2 separate regions of the Homo sapiens genome follow, and region 2 is linked to region 1. The links are contacts of gene promoters, found by promoter capture Hi-C in human tissues and cell types (Jung and others, 2019). All regions are on one chromosome and are shown on one strand. Each heading gives the region's core, a stretch centred on a gene start or on the middle of the fragment in contact. The rest is flanking DNA. Distances are from core to core; before and after follow the strand shown.

What was found. Contacts are between HindIII fragments. The study calls those that stand out against the background at their distance.
Region 2: a contact is called between a fragment that was not itself captured here and the fragment with the promoter of MST1 in region 1, in 1 of the 25 tissues and cell types used here (dorsolateral prefrontal cortex).

The regions. Positions count from the first base shown.
Region 1 is chr3:49,687,403-49,693,620 of GRCh38, reverse strand. MST1 (macrophage stimulating 1) reads left to right here and starts at 4,147. Exons shown (of 18, transcript NM_020998.4): 1 at 4,147-5,023; 2 at 5,724-5,871; 3 at 5,953-6,065; 4 at 6,143-6,218. The coding sequence starts at 4,930. RNF123 (ring finger protein 123) reads right to left here and starts at 4,064. Exons shown (of 39, transcript NM_022064.5): 1 at 4,015-4,064; 2 at 2,374-2,491; 3 at 2,112-2,196. The coding sequence starts at 2,455. RefSeq lists an enhancer at 4,234-4,793. The HindIII fragment of the contact is 11,098 bases long and covers 1-6,218 here.
Region 2 is chr3:49,414,001-49,418,763 of GRCh38, reverse strand. TCTA (T cell leukemia translocation altered) reads right to left here. Exons shown (of 3, transcript NM_022171.3): 3 at 2,288-3,944. The coding sequence ends at 3,902. It overlaps AMT (aminomethyltransferase), which reads left to right. Exons shown (of 9, transcript NM_000481.4): 8 at 791-946; 9 at 1,046-1,986. The coding sequence ends at 1,224. Among named protein-coding and RNA genes, the nearest start is that of TCTA, 4.0 kb to the right of the region's middle. RefSeq lists enhancers at 388-1,106, 2,533-2,742. The HindIII fragment of the contact is 4,017 bases long and covers 1-3,799 here.

The DNA.
Region 1 (6,218 bases), core at 2,898-5,397:
CTTTGGGACGTCGAGGTGGGAGGATCACCTGAGGCTAGGAGTTCGAGACCAGCCTGGCCAACATGGCGAAACCCCATCTCTACTAAAAATACCAAAATTAACTGGGTGTGGTGGTTTGTGCCTGTAATCCCAGCTACTCGGGAGGCTGAGGCAGGAGAATTACTAGAACTTGGGAGGCAGAGGTTGCAGTGAGCCAAGATCATGCCACTGCACTCCAGGCTGGGCAACAAGAGCAAAACTCCATCTCAAAAAAAAAAAAAAAAAAAAAAAAAAGGCCAGGCACACTGGCTCACGCCTGTAATCCCAGCACTTTGGGAGGCCGAGGTGGGCGGATCACGAGCTCAGGAGATCAAGACCATCCTGGCTAACACGGTGAAACCCCGTCTCTACTAAAAATGCAAAAAATTAGCTGGGCATGGTGGCGGGCACCTGCAGTCCCAGCTACTTGGGAGGCTGAGGCAGAAGAATGGCATGAACCTGGGAGGCGGAGCTTGCAGTGAGCTGAGATTGTGCCCCTGCACTCCAGCCTGGGCAACAGAGCAAGACTCCGTCTCAAAAAAAAAAATTTTTCAAAAAAAAAAAAACTAAACTAAAAATTGAGCTACCATATGATCCAGCAACCCCACTGCTGGGTATATACCTGAAAGAAGGGAAATCAGTATATCAAAGAGATATCTGCATTCCCATGTTTGTTGCAGCACTGTTCACAATAGCCAAGATTTGGAAGCAATCTAAGTGTCCATCAACAGATGAATAAATAAAGAAAACATGGTACATATACACAACGGAGTACTATTCGGCCATAAAAAAGAATGAGATCCTGTAATATGCAACAACATGGATGGAACTGGAGGTCATTATGTTAAATGAAATAAGCCAGGCAGAAAAAGACAAACATTGCATGTTATCACTTATTTGTGACAGCTAAAAATTAAAACAATTGAACTCATAGAGGCAAAGTACTGGATGGTTACCAGAGGCTTGGAAGGGTAGTATAGGGCTTGTGGGGAGATGGGGATGGCTAATGCGTACAAAAAAATTGAATTAATGAGACCTATCTGGTAGCAGAACAGAGTGACTATAGTAAATAATAATTGTACATTTAAAAATAACTAAAAGAGTATAACTAGATTGTTTATAAGACAAAAGATAAATGCTTGAGGGGATGGATACCCCATTTACCATGATGTGATTATTACGCATTGCATGCCTGTATCAAAGTATCTCATGTACCCTATAAATATATATACCTACTACATACCCACAAAAATTAAAAATTAAAAATGTAACACAAAGAAAGAAACAGAAAAGAATCACATTTGAATAGTCATGTTAAAATAACAAGATAGCAGGTGCTTTTCCTTCTTTTTTTAGAGACAGGGTCTTGCTCTGTCACCCAGGCTACAGTGCAGTGGCATGCAGAGGCCAACTCACTGCAGCCTCAACCTCCTAGGCTCAAGTGATCCTCCCACATCAGCCTCCCTAACAGCTGGGACTACAGGTGCACACCACCATGCCCAGGTAATTTCTGTATTTTATTGTAGAGATGGGGTCTTGCCATGTTGCTCAGGCTGGTCTTGAACTCCTGGACTCAAGCAATCTACCCACCTTGGCCTCCCAAAGTGCTGGGATTACAGGTGTGAACCACTGTGCCTGGCCCTCTAAGTTTCTGCTAAAATGTACTTGTAACTTTTATACTGACTACACTTAAAAGTATTAAACTTGTAAAGAAAAGGCCCTGGAGGAGTTTGTTCTTTACAAGGTCAGTCAGAAGCTACAAGGGGCCAGGCTGGGGCCAAGGTGAGGGCAGGTACATGCAGGGGCAGATGCTGGGTATGGAGTAGGTGCCAGGTGCTAGCTGGGCATGAATGTGCACCCGCTCCCTGACCTCTGCTCCCTGACTCTCAGAAGGAACTAGCACTGCCTGGAGACAGGAAGAAGCAGAGTACGGAAGGCAGACTCTCTGGCCAGAGATCTCGCAGCCAGGAGCACAGTGAGAACAGAGCCTAAGCCTATCTGTCCAGAGCCCAGGCTCCCTTTCCCTACAACTGCAGCCTCCTTATTCTGGTCTGGCCCAGCAGAGTGAGGAGGGGCCACCCACCCAGCCATACCTGCTGGTGGCTGCTGGGGGTGCATGTTCAGAAGAGGAAAAGATGCGGTTCAGGTAGTCATTCAGCAGCTTCTCCTGCACAATGCCTGAGCCACAAGTCAGAAGGGAGAAAAGGGCCACATGATCAGTGCAGCTCCTGGCCCCTGCTGGCCCCAGAGACTTCTGGTCCTAGGCCAGCCACAGGTGCAGCAAGGCCTGAGGCCTTTGTCCCTTCCTTCTCCTCCCAACAAGAGGAGCCTCCTTCCTTCCCTGCCAGCTCTTACCTGTGACCCTGGATTTCTCAGCATCTGAGGTCAGCCTATAGCTCTTGCGGGAGAAAGACATGCCGGCCCCCTTGGATGCCATCCTTCATCTCTCATGGGCAGCCAGTGGTCCTGGGGGCTGAGCCAGACACAGAGCCTGTCTACTCAGGGCCAGCCAGGGGCCCCCACACCTGACCTCAGTCCTGCCATGGCAGGAAGGCTTGGGAGCAGGTGAGGCCAGGGGCATGCACACTAACACATAGGGCAGGGGAATGCAGGGGCTCCCAGCTTCCTACACAGGGAGGGTAGCCAGGGTCTAGGCCCATGTAACAGGGACCACTTCTTGTTCTCCAGTGTCCCTGTGCCCAGCACAGGGCTGGGCAGAGAGCAGGTACTAGATATATTTTTGCCGAACCATAACAAAATGTCTCAGCTCTGTGGAAATCAGACCAAAATGTCCAAAGTGAGGTGTCCTAGGGGCAGAGCCCCTGTATCCATCTCAGTTGTAAGCCATACTGAGTCCAGCTCACAACCAGAAGCGACAATCCTACACATTCCCCCAAGTGCAGACCACCACTGGTCTGGTCATCTCTAGCCATAAGTCCCACTTACTCCCCACAAGGCTGGAGCCTCTTTCCTCAGCCCTGGGTTCCTCCCTTCTTTTATCCATGGTCCTGATAGTTTCACCATTCCCACTCACACATGTGGCCTCCCACCTCATCCAAGCACCACCCTTGCCCAGCCCTCATGGCAAACTCCATTGGTCCTCCTAGTGCATCTATCCCTCACATCATGTTGCTGCTGCAGCTGCTCCAGAACCTGCACTGAGTCCCTGGTGCTGGCCTCACTGATGTGTAGCGGTGCTGTCCAACACAGCAGCCGTCATCCACATGAGGTTACTTAAATTTAAAGTTTTAAAAATTAACAATTCGATTTCTCAGTTGCCTTAGCCACATTTCAAGAGTTCAATGACCACATGTGGCTAATGGTTACTCTGTTGGACAGCACAAAGGTAGAACGTTCCCACCATCATATAAAGTTCTATTAGACAGCGCAGGTCTAGAGTTTCGCTCTGCAGCACTGCCTTAGCCAGCACTCCCTACTCTGCAGTTCAGTCTCTTATCTCACCCCAAACAGACCCTCTACTCCCGCCACAAACCCTTGTGGGTCTGCACCACGCCTGCTCCTCGGGAAGGTGATTTTCCCGACCTCGGGCCCTCGGTGGGCGTCCATGATCGGTGCCCCTTCACTACCAGAGTAGTTGAAGATCTGATTAAACTCAGTCATTCATTTGATGAGCAGACCTTCCAGACACCCGGAGTGGGCTCCGGGAGTCAGTTGCTGAGGACCCAGGTGAGAGGCGGACCTTGTCCCCGCCCGGGGACTCCCTGTCACGGCTATCCCGTCCAACCCCGCCGGGGTATCCGGACTCAGAACTGAACCTACTCCGTCTGGGAGCCCAAGGACGGCGAGGGCGGCGCATGGCTCCCCCAAGTCGCCCCCGCCTGGCCCCAAGCTCCACAGGACCTGCCAGACCAGCTTCCGCTCGGAGTTTCGCACCCAGATCCCTGCGCTGCAGGTGCCCTCGCACTGGACTAGCCCGGACCGCGAAGGGAATAGCCGGAACCCGCCAGGCTCAGAGCCCTGCCGCCCCTCACTCACCCGGAGCCTCGGCCGCAGCGACCCGGCTCACAACATCCGCCCAACCTCTTGGCTACGGCGTCCGTTCAGGGCCAAATCACGCGCACGCTTGCGCGCTGAGCCTCCAGCCGCGCACGCGCACTGGCCCGCGCCCAGCCTCCGCTAGGGGACCCCCTCCATGGCTTCCCACCGGGTTGTTCCAGGCCTCAGCTTCGCCGAAAGGCCTCACCACCTCCGACCTCCGCCTGCTCTGGGGATGCTCCCAGCCCTGCTGCGGCAGAACGCGACATGCTAACCGGAATCCCTAGGCCGCCTGTCTCCTACCCATACTTAGAGGCCCCGCTCAGACGGTCCTTAAAACGTCTGAAAGGCCGTTCCTGCCAGAGTCCCTGCTACCTGTTACCTCCACCCCTATTTAGTCCTAGTGGACAGCCTCGCTCACCTTCCCTGGGATGACACTTCTGGCGGCTGAGATGAGCGAGCCTCTCTGGGCTCTGCCGCCGGGTGTGGGCTGACCTGCCTACAGCTGGGGCCTGATAAGGCAGCAGCAAAAGGGTGGAGGGGAGGCAGTGTTGAAGCTGGGGCAAGTAATTTTCCCCAATTTACAGGGAAAAACCGAAATTCAGAAAAGTTTAATGTCACCCAGGGGCTGGAGCCCAGACCTCTGGCAGCTCTCACTTTCACAATGCCCTTGGGCTGACTAGGCTGCAGAGGGGTTTCACCCCAACCCCAGGGCACCTCAAGTGTCCCCACCAAACCTTCCTAACACCTGTCCACTAAGCTGTACTAGGCCCTTGCAACTGACCTATGGGACCTGAGGCCTGGCCCCTCATGGCTCCTGTCACCAGGTCTCAGGTCAGGGTCCAGCAGGCCCTGAGCTGACGTGTGGAGCCAGAGCCACCCAATCCCGTAGGGACAGGTTTCACAACTTCCCGGATGGGGCTGTGGTGGGTCACAGTGCAGCCTCCAGCCAGAAGGATGGGGTGGCTCCCACTCCTGCTGCTTCTGACTCAATGCTTAGGGGTCCCTGGTAAGTGCCCCCAACCCTGATCCCCATCTGCCTTCAGGAGGGGGTTGGCCCCATTCTCCTATTCTAGGATGAGAAAAAAGTCGGGGAGCCAGAGGCTCAGTGGGCATGGGGCAGTGACCTTGCCCTCTTGAGCACAGCTGGGAAGCCCTAGGAACACATAGACATTGCCCACTTAGGCCTCTATTAGCACGTCTGCTCTAGCACTGAAGCAGTGTCAGGACCACACAGATGCACGCACACAGCAGGCAGTGACCCCTCCTGAGCCTGATCTACCCCTCTAACCTAGCATATGCCTTTGTGCAGGTGAGAGCCCAGATTTGGAGTCTGAATGCCTAGCCAGGGCCCCTGGCTGGGTAATGTGATGGCTCTGAGCCTTAGCATTCTCATTTGAGAGATGAGGTGGGGCAAGCTTCATCACCCACTGCTCTCACAGAGCGTATGTGTTAGATCTGAGCCCGGTGCCTGGGCCACTAAACAGAGGCACCGGTGATAACTACCAAGTCTGGGCCTGCTTCCCAGGGGAAATTTTTTTCACAAGTATCTGTGCAGGGGGCTAGACTGGCCCTTGAAAGTGCATACAGGGTCCATCCCAGAAGCCTTGTAGCTTTGATCCCCTGAATGAACAAAGTGTGGACATGCCAATACACATTACTGACATGTATGCCCACCTGACCTGCACCCACTCATGCCTACTCTGCAGGGCAGCGCTCGCCATTGAATGACTTCCAAGTGCTCCGGGGCACAGAGCTACAGCACCTGCTACATGCGGTGGTGCCCGGGCCTTGGCAGGAGGATGTGGCAGATGCTGAAGAGTGTGCTGGTCGCTGTGGGCCCTTAATGGACTGCCGGTGAGTGGCCACTGGGCCTAGATAAGACTGGGGGCAGGGAAGCCTGGGCTGTGGCGTTACCCTGTGCCTTCTTCTCTCCAGGGCCTTCCACTACAACGTGAGCAGCCATGGTTGCCAACTGCTGCCATGGACTCAACACTCGCCCCACACGAGGCTGCGGCGTTCTGGGCGCTGTGACCTCTTCCAGAAGAAAGGCAAGTGGGGGTGGAGAGGGGCAGGGTGGGAGACAGGGGACCTCAGCCCAAGTTGATCTTCTGTCTCTTGCTCCCAGACTACGTACGGACCTGCATCATGAACAATGGGGTTGGGTACCGGGGCACCATGGCCACGACCGTGGGTGGCCTGCC
Region 2 (4,763 bases), core at 542-3,041, 270 kb after region 1:
GGAGGCCGAGGCGGGTGGATCACGAGGTCAGGAGATCAAGACCATCCTGGCTAACATGGTGAAACCCCGTCTCTACTAAAAATACAAAAAAAAAATTAGCTGGGCATTGTGGCGGGCGCCTGTAGTCCCAGCTACTCGGGAGGCTGAGGCAGGAGAATGGCATGAACCTGGGCGGCGGAGTTTGCAGTGAGCCGAGATTGCGCCACTGCACCTCCAGCCAGGGCGATAGAGCGAGACCCCGTCTCAAAAAAAAAAAAAAAAAAAAAAAAGAAACTGAAGATGCTGCCGGGCATGGTGGCTCACACCTGTAATCCCAGCACTTTGGGAGGCCAAGGTGGGTGGATCATGAGGTCAGGAATTCGAGAATAGCCTGGCCAACATGGTGAGACCCCGTCTCTACTGAAAATATAAAAATTAGCCAGGCGTGGTGGCGGGTGCCTGTTATCCCAGCTACTCGGGAGACTGAGGCAGGTAAATTGCTTGAACCTGGGAGGCAGAGTTTGCAGTGAGCTGAGATCGTGCCACTGCATTCTAGGCCTGGGCGACAGAGTGACTCCATCTCAAAAAAAAAAAAAAGAAACTGAAGACGCTCGGCAGGTGGGCAGCATGGCCTCCAGGGGATAGGAGGTGGTTGGTTGGCTGACGGCAGTGAAGGGAGGAATAGAGCCTGGAGTAGCCCAAGCAAAGGGGCCTTGATGCTAGATAGTGTGTTACTTGAGGACCTCATAAGGACCTCCTGTGGCCAGGGCTTCTATGGGCTGTGGCTTATGTCTCATGTGTCATTCTCCAGGGAAGCGCCGCCGAGCTGCTATGGACTTCCCTGGAGCCAAGGTCATTGTTCCCCAGCTGAAGGGCAGGGTGCAGCGGAGGCGTGTGGGGTTGATGTGTGAGGGGGCCCCCATGCGGGCACACAGTCCCATCCTGAACATGGAGGGTACCAAGATTGGTAGGTGGACCAGGGAAGCTGGGAAACCCTTGTCTCTTCCCAGGAGGGTGGGGGCACTGGCAGGGTGGTGCTGATGCGTGGCTTATGCTTGCTTGACAGGTACTGTGACTAGTGGCTGCCCCTCCCCCTCTCTGAAGAAGAATGTGGCGATGGGTTATGTGCCCTGCGAGTACAGTCGTCCAGGGACAATGCTGCTGGTAGAGGTGCGGCGGAAGCAGCAGATGGCTGTAGTCAGCAAGATGCCCTTTGTGCCCACAAACTACTATACCCTCAAGTGAAGCTGGCTCAGGGTGGGGCTGTCCCTTCCAGGAGTTTTGCCCCTACAAGGGGTTAGTCAAGAAGCTGAGGCAGAACTCACTGGGGGTGGGCAGTTAAGGTGGAGGCTGATTCTAATTGTCTGGTTGAGGGGCCACACCACCTATTCCCCCCACCTAACTCATGCCATTCCAGCTTCCTTCAGGACCCTGCTTCTGAGTGACGGACCAGCTCACACAATGTCTTGTTTCAGTCCATGATCCCACTGACCTACTCTTGCCTGCTGGAGGGTAATGAGAAGCTTTGGTTCTGCCATCTCTCCCACTCTGCCAGGTGCTGGCTGTGGAGCAAAGGCTCACCTTTGTGGAGAGGATAAAACCTGCCCAACCTACCTCACCATGGTTTTTCACATTGCAAAGGGTAATAACATGGGCAGTGCGGACTTAGGCTACCCCCTCCAGTTTGCTTTCCGTAAATGCAAATTGTCCTTACTGCAAGTCAGGAATGATTGCTGACTCACAGTAGGGCTGCTATGCCTGTGTGTAAACTTGGGGATGGCTGAGGGAACATAGACTCACTCTTCCACATTCCCAAGTTGGTCTAGTGTGCTGCCCAGTAGCAAACCATGGCAGACTCACCACCTATTCTGAGTTCCAGGGCTGCTGTAGGGCAGGGTGGGCTTCCTCCCAGACTTGCCTTACCCTGGGCTGATCTTTGCCCCTGGTATGCATTAATGGACTCCACTGAATCCTGAAAAAAAAATTAAACTTCCTTCTTACTTGCCAGTCTCTAGCTTCATTGTTCTCTGTTCACAGGGTTCCTGAAATGCCAACCCAATGCCTGCCTTCCTGGCCTCCAAGACAAGCTTGGAATAGGTTCTCCTTGAAAGGGGCCAGTCTATAAAAATGGAGATATTGCCCCTGTTGGGCACCCCATCCCTGCTCCTCCAGGGAGCTGCATCACCTCTCCCCTCCCTGCAAGTTATTGCATCTGGGTCCCAAGGGGCAACAGCTTCCAGGATGTTCCCTCTCTCACTGCCCCTGTGCATGCACACCCTTGTTCTGTCTGAATAACCACAACAACCGATGCACTTCCGTGTTTAATAAGCCACATCCTCAGTTGAGCCTGGGGTGAAATGTGAGATCCTGACTCTGTGCAGTAGTATTAGTGGGTGGGCCAGGGGCTGTGAATAACATCATCCTCAGTACAGCTGCAATTCCAGGGCCCCTCTACCACAAAGATGGCTTAAGCAAAGGCAGCCAGATGGAAGTATGATATCCAACAGGAAGGAAGTAGGCAGGGGTCACTAAAGTGGCTGGTGGCCCAGCAGATGGAAACAGAAGTATGGCCCCGAGGGAAGGAGGCAGGTCCAGGGCTACAGTGCTTTCAGGTACTGGTGTTTCTATAGGGGCATTTGCCACCCACATCTTTGGAAACTCCCCTGGCCTATTGTGACATGGCAGGGCTGCCTGGTTCTTGAAGGTAGAGAAAATGCTAGTGGGGAGGAGCTGAGCCTGTGACGTGCATTTGTACCAGGTCCAGATGGGAAATGATGAGGCTGCAGGCTATGATGGGGCCACTGTGCACTAAATGCTTGGTACCATCCTATGAGGGGACAAGGTGCAGACCCACATTCCCATAGGCACTTAAGCAGTGGTGGATAGGAGGCTACCCCAGGGGTTCAGCTGTCCTTCAGGTAATCAGCTTACCCCCAAGAAGGACTGAGAGGAATATGAGTAGGACAGTTGGCAGATGACAATTTCCTTTGCCTGGCTCACGGGAGAAGTCTGGTTGGGCCAGGTATGTGGGTGTTTGGTGCCTCCATCTGGATAGTGCCAGCAGGTACACCACCCTGCCTTATACCTGAATGGCCAGCTAAATAACCATAGAGCTTAAGGTCTGGCTCAGGTCAGGATTCCCTGGCTCCTTGCCAACAAAGCAAAACCAGAGATTCAGAAAACTCAGGGCCTAGGAGAAAACAGACCTGCCTTACAAACCCCAGAGCTGGTCAACCTCAGGCTTCCTCTCAGGAAAAAAATTTTTTTTTTGAGATGGGTCTTGCTCTGTTGCCCAGGCTGGAGTACAACGGCGCAATCTTGGCTCACTGCAACCTCTGCCTCCCAGGTTCAAGCAAATCTCCTGCTTCAGCCTCCTGAGTAGCTGGGATTACTGGTGTGTGCCACCACACCCGGCTAATTTTTGTATTTTTAGTAGAGATGGGGTTTTCACCATGTTGGTCAGGCTGGTCTCGAACTCCTGACCTCGTGATCTGCCTGCCTCAGCCTCCCAAAGTGTTGGGATTACAGGCGTGAGCCACCATGCCTGGCCAACTCAGGAAAAATTTTTATGGGGTCACATCTTGGGGATGGAAGAGGGACAGGAAAAGAAACCTAAGACAAAAGAACTGATGGTCTTCCCAACCCAGAGGCTTCCTGAGTTATCACCCCTGAGAGAGGAAGAACACAATCTCTCTCCTTAAGGCACCCAGATAAGAGTACAGGCAAACTCTTCACTTGCCCAGTGCCTGGGTGAGGGAGCAGGCTTAAGAGGCAGAAGAGGCCCAGCCCTGTAGGCACTGGGTACTCCCTGCTACCAACCCTGAACCCCCGGCAGTTGTCCCTGAGGTCTGGGGAGTAGCAGAACCCAGTGTAGAAGCCAGCAGACCCAGTGATGCCCTTGGAGACCCTCTGCTGCCTTCCCTTATTCTCTGTGGGTTTTGAGAGGTTCGTTTGCTGCCATTTCCCTGAAAGTGATGGAGAGAGAGAAGAGAGAGTGGTTATTCCATGGGCAGAACAGTTGCTGAAATTGGCTCTCCCAAGCTCCTTCTTGGGGGCTGAGCTAGGCTCAGTAAGGTCACATAACAATCTAGACCTCTCTGCTGGTCTCCCACAGCCCACCCTGGGCCCAGCACCTTCTCCCTGCAGACTCATTCTTCTTCCTGGTTCTCCATGTTAGTACGGCATTGCCATCCTTCTCTAGTTTTTTTATTCTTTTTATTTATTACTATTGTTATTACTTTTCTTTTTTTGAGACGGAGTTTCACTCTTGTTGCCCAGGTTGGGGTGCAATGGCAAGATCTCAGCTCACTGCAGCCTCCACCTCCCGGGTTCAAGCAATTTTCCTGCCTCAGCCTCCCAAGTAGCTGGGATTACAGGCGCCCGCCACCACACCCAGCTAGTTTTTGTATTTTTAGTGAAGACGGGGTTTCGCCATGTTGGCCAGGCTGGTCTCAAACTCCTGGCCTCAGGTGATCTACCCTCCTCAGTCTCCCAAAGTGCTAGGAACAGGCGTGAGCCACCATGCCCGGCCTGTTATTTTTTTTGAGACAGAGTCTCACTCTGATGCCCAGTCTGGAGTGCAGTGGCGTGATCTGGGCTCACTGCAACCTCTGCCTCCTGGGTTCAAGTGATTCTCATGCCTCAGCCTCCCGAGTAGCTGGGATTACAGGCGTATGCCACCATGCCCAGCTAATTTTTTCTATTTTTAGTAAAGACGGGGTTTCCCTATGTTGGCCAGGCTAGTCTCAAACTCCTGACCTCAAGTGATCCGCCCATCTCAGCCT